2 separate regions of the Homo sapiens genome follow, and region 1 is linked to region 2. The links are contacts of gene promoters, found by promoter capture Hi-C in blood cells and fetal thymus (Javierre and others, 2016). All regions are on one chromosome and are shown on one strand. The core of a region is centred on a gene start or on the middle of the fragment in contact, and the rest is flanking DNA. Distances in the headings are between cores, read along the strand shown. Region 1 overlaps PIGP (phosphatidylinositol glycan anchor biosynthesis class P). Region 2 holds the start of PSMG1 (proteasome assembly chaperone 1).

Region 1 (6,623 bases), core at 3,701-6,200, 2.1 Mb before region 2:
AACCAAGTTCCTTCCCACCTTATGGTCTTTGCCTCACCTGCTTTATACTTAGATCCCAACAGCCTCTCTCTGAGAGGCCTTCCTTGACCACCCAATGTGAACTAGTCATCCCTTTGCATTCTAGAATACATTATCTTAATTCTTTGCATAGCACTCATCAAATTATATTTCCTTGTTTATTTGCTTAGTTGCCTCACCCTGCTTCTAAAACTATAAGCTCTTTGAGAGAGAATCTTACCATTACTTCATCCTCAGTGCCTAGAAAAATACCTGGTACACAGTGAGTACTCAACAAATATTTGTGTCTTAGACATGAATCTGATGGCACAAGTACTAACTGTACCCTTCCCAAAAACTAAGGGTTTGAATTCTGGGCCCCTCAGGACAAACAGGAGGAAGGACATCATTGCCCTTTGCAAATTACAATATAAATGCCTCTCTGGAGGAACTTCTTGATTATACTGACATTGATTTTTTTTTTTAAGTCTGCTATATGGGAATGCAATATTGTATTTATTCTATTCATTAACAATACTTGAACATTTACAATATTCATTGAACATAATCTAAGAGAAGGTCAACTTACATTTTTTACTTCTCTATTAATAAGAGAGATGGTCAAATTAATTTATGGTCAAAATTATAATGGCAAAAACTTATAAATAAATACGTGCTTGGTGTTACTATGGTTACACACAGTTCAGTTTTTGGTGTAAAGTTCTTTGGCTGCAAGAAAGAACATTTGGTTTACTTCACTAATAGAAATATCTCTTAAGGCTGGAATGGCCTCCTCTTGGTATTTCTTCTGCTGTTGATTTTTTGCATAGTTATCTGTAAGAAAAGACCAAAAAGCTCTGTTTACCTAAGCAATTTCTTCTACAGTCTCTGTGTCTGATGGAGACCCACCACATAGTTTACTAGGCTGACGTTTGGATAGTGACAAACATCATGTTTAACATAATTAGATGATTACTTAAATCCTCTCTTTAGAAGAAATGTCCCAATTAAAATAAAAACATCCCTGTCTCTACTAAAAACACAAACACACAAAATTAGCCTGGTGAGGTGGCGGGCGCCTGTAGTCCCACCTACTCGGGAGGCTGAGGCAGGAGAACAGCGTGAACCCAGGGGGCGGAGCCTGCAGTGAGCCGAGATTGCGCCATTGCACTCCAGCCTGGGTGACAGAGCGAGACTCCATCTCAAAAATAAAAAATAAAAAATAAATAAATAAATAAATAAAAATAAAAAAATAAAAACATCAGTAAAGTACTTTTTTCATCTCTAACTTGGAAAGAAATCAATATTTTAATCAACCATACAATGATGATTAAAGTCTCATTTGCACATTTCTCACGGGAACAGAATTATATCCAGGCCTTGAAAATGTATTTAAATCAACATGGCAAAACTATTAAATCATTTGGTATAAATATTCATGCAATCTTAACAATTTCCCCTCTTTGCACAAATTACCTATTTGCTGCCAATTCCAATCAAGAATGCATGGAATGCAGTGTATTAGAAAGACACTTAAAAATAATAGAATTGATTTTCAAAATACATTGTAGAGGCTAATATATAAAGGTTTTGAAAAGTTGAAAAATCATACCAGGGAACTTAAAAAATACTTTACTTTCTAGAATTTAAGCAAGCTCAGGAGTCTGATTTATTTTCATCTTTAGACTTGAAAGAACTTTAAAAAAATAAAACCAGACGAACGTGTTGTGGCTCTTTTATCCACTTAATTGGAATAAGGAGTACACAATGATCCTGAGGAGGATACACACCCCCAAAGTCCTTTTTCTGAACAAGGTCTGCATGTACTATTTACTATCCCTTGATCAACGGTGTCTGTTCAGGATAAGCTTCTCTCAGGCAAAGTTAATGGGAACATATTATAGACACATATAGCATATACTTGTGGTTTTTATGGGAACATACACCTGCTAACCAGTGCTATAATTAATTATAATTTATTTCCTCCATGAATATAGCTAGTGTGTATTCATCAGAACTTAATTCCTTCATGCAAATATTTCCTTTTATATAAGTTTGTATTTATTTCTCTTAGTAGCTTCTTTTTACTGTCCGTGTGTGTGTGTGTGTGTGTGTGTGTGTGTGTGTGTGTGTGTGTTTTCTTTTAGGATGGAGTTTCACTCTTGTCACCCAAGCTGGAGTACAGTGGTGGGATCTTGGCTCACTGCAACCTCTGCCTCCTGGGTTCAAGTGATTCTCCTGCCTCAGCCTCCCAAGTAGCTGGGATTACAGACGCGCACCACCAACATGGGTTTTGCAGCCTGTTCTTTGTTGCTTTTCTGGGTAAAAGTGCTAATACTCCACTCTTTCATTGCCCCAGCACTTTCCTTTTATATAAAGTTACCTGTGATTGTATGGATGGAGTCGAGTGGAGAGGTACTCATCATGTTAATCCCAAACAAGAGCACGTAGCCAATTACTATAGCAATAAGGAGGTAGACAGGTAATGCAACTGCCCAATATCTGCCAAAGAGAATATTAAAGTACATAATAGACACTTTAAAAAAGTTGTAATTCTCAAGAGTCGGTCACAAAGCCAACATGTTTTTTAAATTTAAATTTTATAAAGTAATATGTGTACATAAGAGACAAATAGTTCCACAAGGCTTACAGTGAAAAACTGCAGTCCTCTATCCCACCATCCCAACCCTGGGGTCTCACTCTCCAAAAAGAAATGCTTTGAGCACTTGAGCTGTCTTCTGGTACTTACCTCCTCATTGCTACAAAACATGCTCATATTACTATTTCCTCATTTTTTTCCATTACAGACATTTTCTCTAGGCTTCCTAATATGGAGATAAGGAATTAACCTCCTCCTATCCTCTTCTATACTTACATTGCAATTTCTCATTATAGCAGCAGGTTTTAGAAATAATTGTACCTACATAAACAATTTTGCAACTGAGGATCTTAGTACATTATTATTATATATTTTCTTGTACAACTTTTTTTTTTCTGGAATAATTACATCTTTTTGTCTGTTCACTTGGTTTCCCAGGAATCCACCAATACCAGAGCCTCAAATTCTCTGATAGGACTCTATTATGCCTCTCAGTATCATTATGTACATGGAGTGCTATTTTTCATTGAGTGTTTTTTTTTTCTTTTTGAGAAAGCATTTCCCTCTGTCACCCAGGCTGGAGTGCAACGGCATGATCACAGATCACTAGCCTCAATCTGCTGAGCTCACTTCAGCCCTGCAAGTAGCTGGGACTATAGGCACACACCACCACACCTGGCTAATTTTTAATTTTTTTGTAGAAATGGGGTCTTGAGATGTTGGCCAGATGTTTTTTTTTTTTTAAATGATTTGTTCTCTATTATTTTCTCTTTCTGGAACTTCTAATAGTTTGAATTTTTAACGATTATACTTTCTTATATTTTCATTTTTTTTTGTTCTAACTTCTAGAGATTACCTTTGTTTTATTTTCCAGTCTTTCAATTAAAATTTTAATTTTGGTTATCATGTTTACAATTTCCAAATACAGTAATTTCCTGTTTGCATAGCATTCTGTTCTTGTTTCATAGTTATAATTGTTTCTTACCTCTGAGAATTTTATGTTATTTAAATTTTTTTTTCTGTTTCCTGCATTATCTCTATTTCCTTCAAATTCCCTTTAATTTTCTGCTTTTTCATTTCATGCTAGAGGCTTTCTTTTAATGTCTGGTAACTTAGAGTAGTCCATTCATATTTAAAAATGAAGTGCTAACAAGTGAGTTGGAAGCACTATGTGTATGTGGGCAGGGATGGTCAACTGGTGAGCCTCACTCTGAGAGACTTGGCCACTTCACTGGGGTCCTCTAAATGTCAGAAATTATAGATCCTTTCTCTCGGGCTGGTCAGCTTCCTCAGGAAAGAACTATCTATCTTTTTCTGTGAGCAGTAGGGTGATATAAGCCTCGAAGCCCCAAGAGGGAAGATGGAGCAGGAGGTAAATCTTCTCATTAAGCCATGTAGATTTTCACTTACTTCCCTGTTTTCAGTAAGATGCCGCATTCCCACACTCAGACTTAGTGGCCCCCATGCTAGAGACTCTTACTTAACCTTGCCAGAGAGTAAAACTCCTGTTTTCTGCAGGGGAGGGCAGGGCAGGCCTCCCAGCTTTGAGGGCTGAGGGAGATTTGAAGGCTGAAGACTTCATATGGTCTTTAAACATGTTTTCAGTTCAACCCAGAATTAAAGAGCTACCTGGTACCCCAATGTCTGAGCTATTCTGGAGTTCTAAGGCACAAATATTCTTGCTGGCTTCCCTACTTCAGCAACGTGAAAATCACAGAAACAAAGGCAGTTACCTCTCACCTATCACAATCCACTTTCCAAAATGTGGTTGATATCTCTTTTCTGCTATACTATTGTTTCTGTGGTTTGTATCTTCAGTTTTTTTTTTTTTTCCTGTAGGGTCATTTTAACAAGATTTTTGGAGGAAATGGATGGAGATAAACATGTGTGTTCATGCTACCATCTTTAATTAGAGATGTATCAATAGCGATCTTTAAAAAGCTTTCAATTTCTATATGGCTATTCATGAATTTTAAGAGAACAAATATTTAAGATTTGGGTAGGTTTAAGAAATGATATGACTCCTCAAAACAGCATTAATTATATCCTCATTTAAGAAATATATTAAACTTACTTTTGAGGCCAATAGGTTAAACCTAAAGAGTTTAGCCAAGATTCAGGAATAAAGGCCCACACGAGGTAAAGTACTGTAGAAAAGAAAAAGAAAAAAAAGAGGAAGAGAAGTCAGTAAGACATACATCTAATCTATCAATCTATTAAGATTCAGATAAAACAGAAAAGCTCTTTTGAAGTGTCCCTGATTAACTCAGAAATGATTTTTTCCTCCTTTCAGTTCTTCTAGCTCGTTTGCACAATTCTTATAATACTTATAATTACTGTATTAGTCTTTTTTTTTAATATCTTAACTCACATTATATTTTAAGCAATTCAAGGATACAAATCATGGCTTAGCAATTGTTGTAATCCTTATTACCTAGCAGTTTGCTTTAGGTACAGTAAGTGTTCAATACTTCATCCCCACAAGGTTGAAGTAATTATAGACATTTAATTGCTCAAAGGGAAATTTACCTACCCTAGTTCTCATCCACCACATACTGAGCTTCTGCCCTATCTCCCAGAGTACAATGTTATTTCCCTCAATCCGAAATCTCGGCACTCTTTACTGTTATCCCACGATAACAACAATGGCTAAGTTCTGAGCACTCACTGTGGGTTAAGCACAGTTCCAAGCATTCTGTATGCATTAAGATAATCCTCCAAGACAATCCTCCAAGGCAAGTATGCAATTTTAAATGATGAGGAAATGGAAGCTTAGAAAGGATACATCACCTACCCAAGGTAAGCGGCAAAGATAAATTTTAACTACCTACTACATCAGTGATGATGCATTCTTTTCTTAACAAATATGTATTACAGAATTCTGTATGTCAGGTGTGTGAGACACAATATTGAATCCAAAAGAGATGGCTTCTGCCCTCCCTAAACTTAAAATCTAGTGGTGAATAGAGAAAATTGGTATTTTCACTACATTGTTACAAGTGCTCACGAATGAGTAATAAAAGATGACATAGAAGCACATTAGAAGGCCCTCCTTCCACTTCGTATCCTCCTTCCCTTTGCTTAATTTCTCCCCATAGTACGTTATCACCTGATACTATATACGTTTTTCTTATTTAACTTGCCCATTGACTATCTCCCCCCGGCATGAGAATGAAGACTCAAAGCAGGGCATTTTTGGCTGTTTTGGTCCTTCCTGGCCTGTAACAGTGCCTGGCACATGGTAAGCACCAATAAATACTTGAATTACTTTTTGGTTGTGGGTATGATGGAATTTAATTTTGTTTTGAGACAGTTTCGCTCGTTGCCCAGGCTGGAGTGCAAAAGTGCAATCTCAGCTCACGGCAACCTCCGCCTCCCGGGTTCAAGCGATTCTCCTGCCTCAGCCTCCCGAGTAGCTGGAGTTACAGGCATGCGCCACCATCCCGGCTAATTTTGTATTTTTAGTAGAGACAGGGTTTTTCCATGTTGGTCTGGCTGGTCTCAAACTCCCGACCTCAGATGATCTGCCTGCCTCGGCCACCCAAAGTGCCGGGATTACAGGCGTGAGCCACCAGGCCGGCCAGAATTTAAGCCTTAAAGTGATTGCTTTTATTTATTCATATAGCTTCTAATCCTTGACATACTCTTTGAACAAGGATTTACAAAAGTGCTAACAATAACATCAGTAGCTAACACTTATTAAGTCCCTAACTGTTCCTAGGCATTATTTTACGTGCTTTACATAAATTACCCCCGTTAATCCTCACAACAGTCAGAAGAGGCAGCAGAGTGAAGTCAGCCAGTGTATTTGGGTTCAAATTTAGAAGGCTTTTATTTAGTAGCTTTGCAATCTTGAGCAAGTTACTGAAACCACAGGATGCTCATCTTTAAAGGACAGTAATAACAGAACCTACCCCATAGAACTGTTTCATGCGTCATAAGCATTTAATAACCATCATTATCACTACCCTTTTACAGATAAGGAACCTGAGGCTCAAAAAATTTGCTGAGGGTCCCAGCTCACATG
Region 2 (6,365 bases), core at 94-2,593:
CCAAGAACCAATCTTAGCATCCCTAAAAGTGAGACAGCTGGGGATAGCCTGCAATAAGAAACAGAAAGCACCACTTAGTAGAAGCATTCTTGCCGACAAAACTTTGAATGAGAATCTGACCAAGCCTCCAAATGAACATTCATTTTACAGGACATGCAGGTGATACAAACGTTAAGTGACACCACAACGAAGCTATCAGACAAATTCAGAGTGTGGGGGCACTGGACAAGACAATCAGTCCTGTCTCTTAGGAGGGGTAAGAGGAGGTTGCTCTAAATGAAGTGACACGTCTAAATGTAACCTGTGGACCCTGTTAGGATTCTCATTCACGCAGACCACTGTAAAATGTCATGTTTGAAAAAACTAGGTAAACGTGAGTGAGCATGGACTACAAAATGATACTGGAAAATTAGTATTAGTGTTGTTAGGGGTGATAATAGCATATGTAAGAAAATCCCTAAAACGTTTGAGATGTATTCTGAAAAATGTAGAGGTGAAAGGCCATGATGACTGGAATTCGCTTAGGAGTGGCGGGAGAGAAAATAAACGTGGCAAAATCTTCCTGTTGAATTTACCCGGTTGTGTAGGGGTCAGGGCTCACTTGACTATTTTCTCCCACTTTTTTGTGTTTGGAAACAATTTTTTTAAAGCGTGTTCATCGGCTACTGACACATCATGCTAATTGAAGTGTTGGGTGCAGGTTTAAAAAGTTTCGAGGGAATTGGTGTGTCCGTGAACAATCCACGACAAACGTGGTGGGGCCCGCGGGAGCGCTGCGGCCCAAGACAGTGTGACAAGCGGGAAGATCACGAGTCCGCAAGACACCAAGCCTCCAGAAATGCTCCAGAAACGCTCCAGAAAGCCTTTAAAGAACGGATTTGAACCCAGCCCTCCCACAGCGGCTTCACCCTGGACTCCACGAAACGCCAGCAGATCCACGCGAGAACCACACACACCTGGGGCTGGCGCCGCTGGACGCCGCGGCTTCACGGAGACCCAGGGCCCAAGCAGAGCCAAGGAGCGGCGGCAACCGCGGGGGCCACTCGGAAGACCGCGGAGCCCCGGCCTTAGGCGCCGTCGCGGCTGCCAGGCCCGCGCACCTTCCAGCTGCGGTGAGCGCGCTGCCCTTATCCCGGTGCCTCACCTCTTCCGCGCCAGCTGCAGACGCACCTCCCTGTCCTCGGGCGTCTCCCTCCGCCCCTCCTCCTCCTCCTCTTCGTCCTCAGTCCCAGCTCGGCACGGCGCCTTCACCACCTCTCCGAAGAACGTGGCCGCCATAGCCGCCCCGTGACCGGCTGGACACAACTGCAGCGCCGCGGGACCGCACGCCGGCTTGCGCGAGACCACGCTCCCTCACCGCGCGGGCAATAAGTCCCGCCCCGCACAGGCCACGCCCTCCGCGCACAGCCCAAGCTCGCGGCCACACCCCCACCGCGCGGGCGCTACGTCCCGCCCCGCACAGGGCTCGCTCCCAGGCACACCCTGAGCTCGCGGCCACGCCCTCTACACCGCCCGCCCGCGCTGTCATGCCCTGGGCCAGCAGTCCCCGCAGCTTTTTTGTTTTTAAATTACAGATTGGGGGAGGGGGTCTCGCTATGTTGCCCAGACTGGTCTCGAACTCCAGGACTCTAGCGATCGTCCTCCTTAGACCTCCCAAAGTGCTTGGATTACAGGCCTCAGCCACCGCGTCCGGCCCCCAAAGGCTTTCATTCGCAGCTTGAGCCCTGCGGGCGCCAGGAGGTGGGAGGACTGCGGGCTAGAGGGGCAGGGGGCGAGAGGAGGGCGGGGCCTCCGTTCGTGGCGGTAGCGGAACCAGGGGTGCAGGGGCGGAGCCAGCGCCGCTGGCCGTGGCGTCCGGGAGCTGTGGGGCCGTCCCCTCATCGTCCGTTTCCATTTTCCTTCTGCGTTAGGAGAGACTGGGGTAGCATTAGTGTACTGAGCACCCGCTCCAAATTTCGACTGCCCAGGTAGGTGGCGGCGCGGTGGTACTGAGGGCCCCCGTAGCCAGGCGCGCCCTCAGACAGCGGGCACGGGCGGACGCAAGGGCAGCAAGAAATACAGCGCTTCGTGGTGGTATAAAAACGAGACCTTTACTCTGGCAATAGGAATTCACATTTCAAAAGCTGATGATTGTCAAGGCGATTTAAAAAACATTTTTATGAGTGTAAAAAATAGTGTTTTAAAGTTGGCCATTTTCTAATACAAAATGTTTCTTTTTAAATAGCCTTTAATAAGCAGAATGTGTGATTGTTCTTTAATTGGTTCTCTTTAAAATGTGCTGGAAGACAAAGTTCGAGGAGCACTGTTTCAAGCAAGAGAAAAAGGGGACATAATTTAAATGAAAATGAAAATATGCAGTAATGCAATGAAAAAACCGTTTCCTAGATTTAGTTGTACCGAAATACATGACATCGCCTGCATTTTGTGACTTTGTCAGTAGTCACGAAGGTAAGTACTACTTTGGGGTCAGAGAGAGCCTGTTGAGATAAAATCTCAAAGCTGTTAGAAACATTTTAAGATGTGGAAAGATAATCAACAAAATCATTTACATAAAATTAGTACTTAGCAGATGTACACATCTGCAAAAATAAAGTGAGTTTGGAAGCAAAATTTGAACATTTAGCAATAAAATTAAGACGAAATTGCTAGCCAGTAAGAGCTTAGGAAACTGGATATCCTTAGTGAGATAGAATAAACAAGATCACCACAATGATGTTTTAAAACATTAGGACTCCTGGGTTAACTGGTCTATTATGATGATGGAACTGCAGAATAAAAAGGTTGTTTGGGCACCACTTGTCTTAGTCCTTTTGTTAATTTGTCATTTTTACCAGTAAGATCTTCAATTTGATTTCACAGTTCCATGATGAAGAAATATTTTCTGCAAAGCAAATTACTGTAAATAGGGTAATAGTAATACATTTGGCCATGATTTAAATTCTGCACACATTTCAGAGAGAACAATTTTACAATGTTAAGTTTTAAGCAAATGCTTATTTCATGCAGTTACAATAAGTTTAGGCCAAGCACTTTTTAAAAAGGCAAATATGTTCGAATTAAATACTTAGCCAAAAAAGGATTTCATTATGCAAGACTGATAATACAATCTCAAATACTGACAGAAATTAACCCCACCACAGCAAATTATAAATTCAAAGCTTAAATTCTTTCATTACACTGAAATTGCTAAAAAAAAAAAAAAAAAAAAAAAAAAACTTTGCATAAAATAGTCTTCACCGAGTTAAGTATTTCATTTTATAGTTACTTGTTGAGGACATAATATACTCAATAAATATTATAAATTAAGTGTAAAATTTGAACTGGAAAGAAGTTTAAGCATTTCATTAGAGCTCAAAAATCAAACCCCATGCACCTAAAAGTAATAGCAGTTTATTAGGAATTCTTCCCTTTCTCACCTGTGTATCAACATATTGGGGATCAGTAATTTAGATGAAAGTATACTACAAAAGGAGCAAAGGACACAGACTTAGTAGGTTAGAATATTCTGGCTTATGCTAAAAAACAAAAAGCCTTTTTTTTAAAACAGACATGCAACCACAAATTTCTCAAGTATTTTAGACACTTGGTTCATCTGTATAACAAAAAAAAAAAAATGCATTTGACTTAAAAAAGAAATAGAAAACCCTAGGTTTCTGTAGTTTAGTTTTTCAGATTTACACATGCAAATCATATATTCAGATATTTTTAAATGGGAAAACAACTTACTTTCAACAACTTAATTTTTCCAGTAACACGTTACTATGTTAAAAAGATGCGACAGTATATTCATTTAATCTGGCAATTTTAATTTCAACAAATACATATTAACAACAAATTAAATCCTATTGTAAATACACTTCTTTGTTATACCACGACCAAATTTTCTAATCCTAGTACAGGCCACAATGAAATAGGCCAAACATGCTACCATTAAAGTTTGTTGGGATGAGATTGTAGTAAGTTTACTCAAAGTATTCAAGTTCTAATTTTTAAGGTGCTGTAGAGAAACATAAAAGATTTCACTGTATCTAAAAATATGACTGTTTTGATCTTAAGCTATACATTTTATTTTTATCTAACTGATTAAGACCTGCCTCTTAATGAGGCACATTTTTGGCATTTCTGTAAATGCTGCTACATACAAGTAAAAATAAGGAAAAGCCGTGATAGTAACATTCATAGCTTTCATAGAAAAATATATATTCCCTGAATTAGTCATATCAAGTGGTCATTCAGTATGAACTGCAATATTATAAACAAAATGACATCAATGGACTTTCTCTAATTGCCTATTTCCAACACTCTACTTCAGAACTCAATAATCAGTATCTCCAGCTGAAATTCCCAGGTCCTCCTAGTTTGTTTTTGACCTTTGGGGATGTGAATTGTAGGGAATGGATCTGGGTAGTTTTTGCTTCACTCAGAAGTCAAATAGGCCCATTAGCACTTCCTTTGGAAAAATGCCTGATTTTTTTTCCTCATGACACCATAGTTGTCGTGGTCTGAATTTTTACACTGTAATGGAGAACCCTGAAAATTAGCATCAGGTTAAGATTTTGAAATTTGTTCACTTCAAGTTCTTCCTAGCCTGTACACTTCCCATTATATTCTTCCTCTAAGGAATCATGTCTTCAAGGCCTTGCATTCTGGAAAGGAATAGTAGTCTTATAGCAGGCCATTTGTCTTTTCTTTCCACCTCTCCACCTACAGACTCTGCAATTTATTTCCTCCTCAGAATTCCCCAGAGCACATGTCTGTACAAGAGCTGACTGGGAGGAACCCACTGGATTATGGCTTTTAGAAAATTCCTCCAAAGATGCCAATAAGGGAGTAATTTTAGAGCTGGGAGCAGAATGTAACTGCCAGTTTACTTGTGTACCAATTGTTTTCAGATGCCACTTCTACATTCTCATAGTCACTATTGTGCATTTTCTTTCCAGGATCTGAACCCCCTTAAAAAAAGCATTTTTCTATTAATATCTTCTAGCTCTTTTTCACTTTCAGAATTTATGGTTGTATCATCCTCTTTATAAACATTCAGTAATTTTTTCTTAGCCGCAGCAGAAGCATTTCGATGGGGCAGTTTTCTGCTACTCTTCCTAATCCAGACATTTTCTGGTCCTGAGATCGTTTCTTTTAGATTACTCATTATCTTTATTTTATTTGCAGCAACAGTAGCACATCTGCGGGGAACTTTCTCAGGTACCATTTTTGCTTTCAGAGTTTCACTAGGCATCTGCACTGCATCCTTCTGATTATGCATACATGTTCTCACTTTTGTATTGGGTTCTCTGTCTCTAGGAACAAATTCTGAAAAATGAGTGAAAGTTCATGTAAATGCAAAAATCTTGTAACACAAGATTTTACTACTGCTAACATTCCTCAACAACACTCATTCGGAAACAATAAATTTAAAAGTCATATTGCTAAATGATAAATTTTAAAATGTGATACTAAGGGCTTCTTCACATTGATATAACCTTACATTTGCTTATCTACAACTATAAGGATGTCACTTAAAACAGTAGCAGACTTGTAAGAATGGGGTGAAAAGTTCCTTCAGCATCGGCATCATAAAGCTGCTAATCTAAAAACATATATATGAGCATTTTACATAATTTGAATTACTAAATCTTAACTTCATTGTTCCAGTATTTTCTGACCTAGGTATGTGACACACGAGATTCAGATTAAAATTCTAAAAAATAACACAGAGTTGCTTTAAGGAACCAAAAAGTGCAGAGTGCTATGAGAACACAGACTGGAAACCTAACCTAGCCTAAGGGATCAAGGAAGGCTTCCTTTAAGGAAGCTTTTAGACGAGAGGTGAAAATTGTGAAGGGATTTGCCAGACAAAAAGCACTTTGGAGAGTTAACTACTTCATGCAGACTAAGGCAGTTTTTAGAGGGGGCTTGAAATCACACTGGAGCTCTACACAGCCACATGATGCCAGAGCTACTACTCCGTGCTGACCAAACTTAGGAGGGCTCAGATATGTTTGTTACCAGTGTCTCAAAGCCAAATTTTCAAATTTCACAAACAAGTCTAATTAGTACTCTTCTAGAACAGAAGTGATATTCCTTTTACGTATCTGAAGTTCACGGGCCCTTGAATTTTAGGTCTTTCTTGCAGCCATGAACAGTCAAACTATCTAAAACTGCCTTCATGGTACACACCAATCTTGATGGCAGTTTGTTTTGTAGGACCCTGCCTGAAGTTTCCAGACATTTAGCATTCAAAAGGTAAGGCTGTAGATCACTGAAATAACCAGTTGATATCCTCCACCCACACTAGACATCTGGAGGACTCCACCACATTCTTTTTACTACTAAGTACTAGAAAATGAGAGCTCTTTTAGTCAGAT

What was found. Contacts are between HindIII fragments. The CHiCAGO score rates a contact against its expected background, and 5 or more counts as called.
Region 1: a fragment that was not itself captured here is called in contact with the fragment with the promoter of PSMG1 in region 2 in 1 of 17 cell types (total B cells); the score reaches 6.7 in total B cells.

The regions. Positions count from the first base shown.
Region 1 is chr21:37,064,882-37,071,504 of GRCh38, forward strand. PIGP (phosphatidylinositol glycan anchor biosynthesis class P) reads right to left here. Exons shown (of 5, transcript NM_153682.3): 3 at 4,671-4,743; 4 at 2,381-2,499; 5 at 493-831. The coding sequence ends at 701. Among named protein-coding and RNA genes, the nearest start is that of PIGP, 4.9 kb to the right of the region's middle. The HindIII fragment of the contact is 830 bases long and covers 4,536-5,365 here.
Region 2 is chr21:39,182,108-39,188,472 of GRCh38, forward strand. It overlaps PSMG1 (proteasome assembly chaperone 1), which reads right to left and starts at 1,344. Exons shown (of 7, transcript NM_003720.4): 1 at 1,145-1,344. The coding sequence starts at 1,278. BRWD1 (bromodomain and WD repeat domain containing 1) reads right to left here. Exons shown (of 41, transcript NM_033656.4): 41 at 3,375-6,365. RefSeq lists silencers at 1,020-1,099, 1,300-1,519. The HindIII fragment of the contact is 4,125 bases long and covers 1-3,156 here.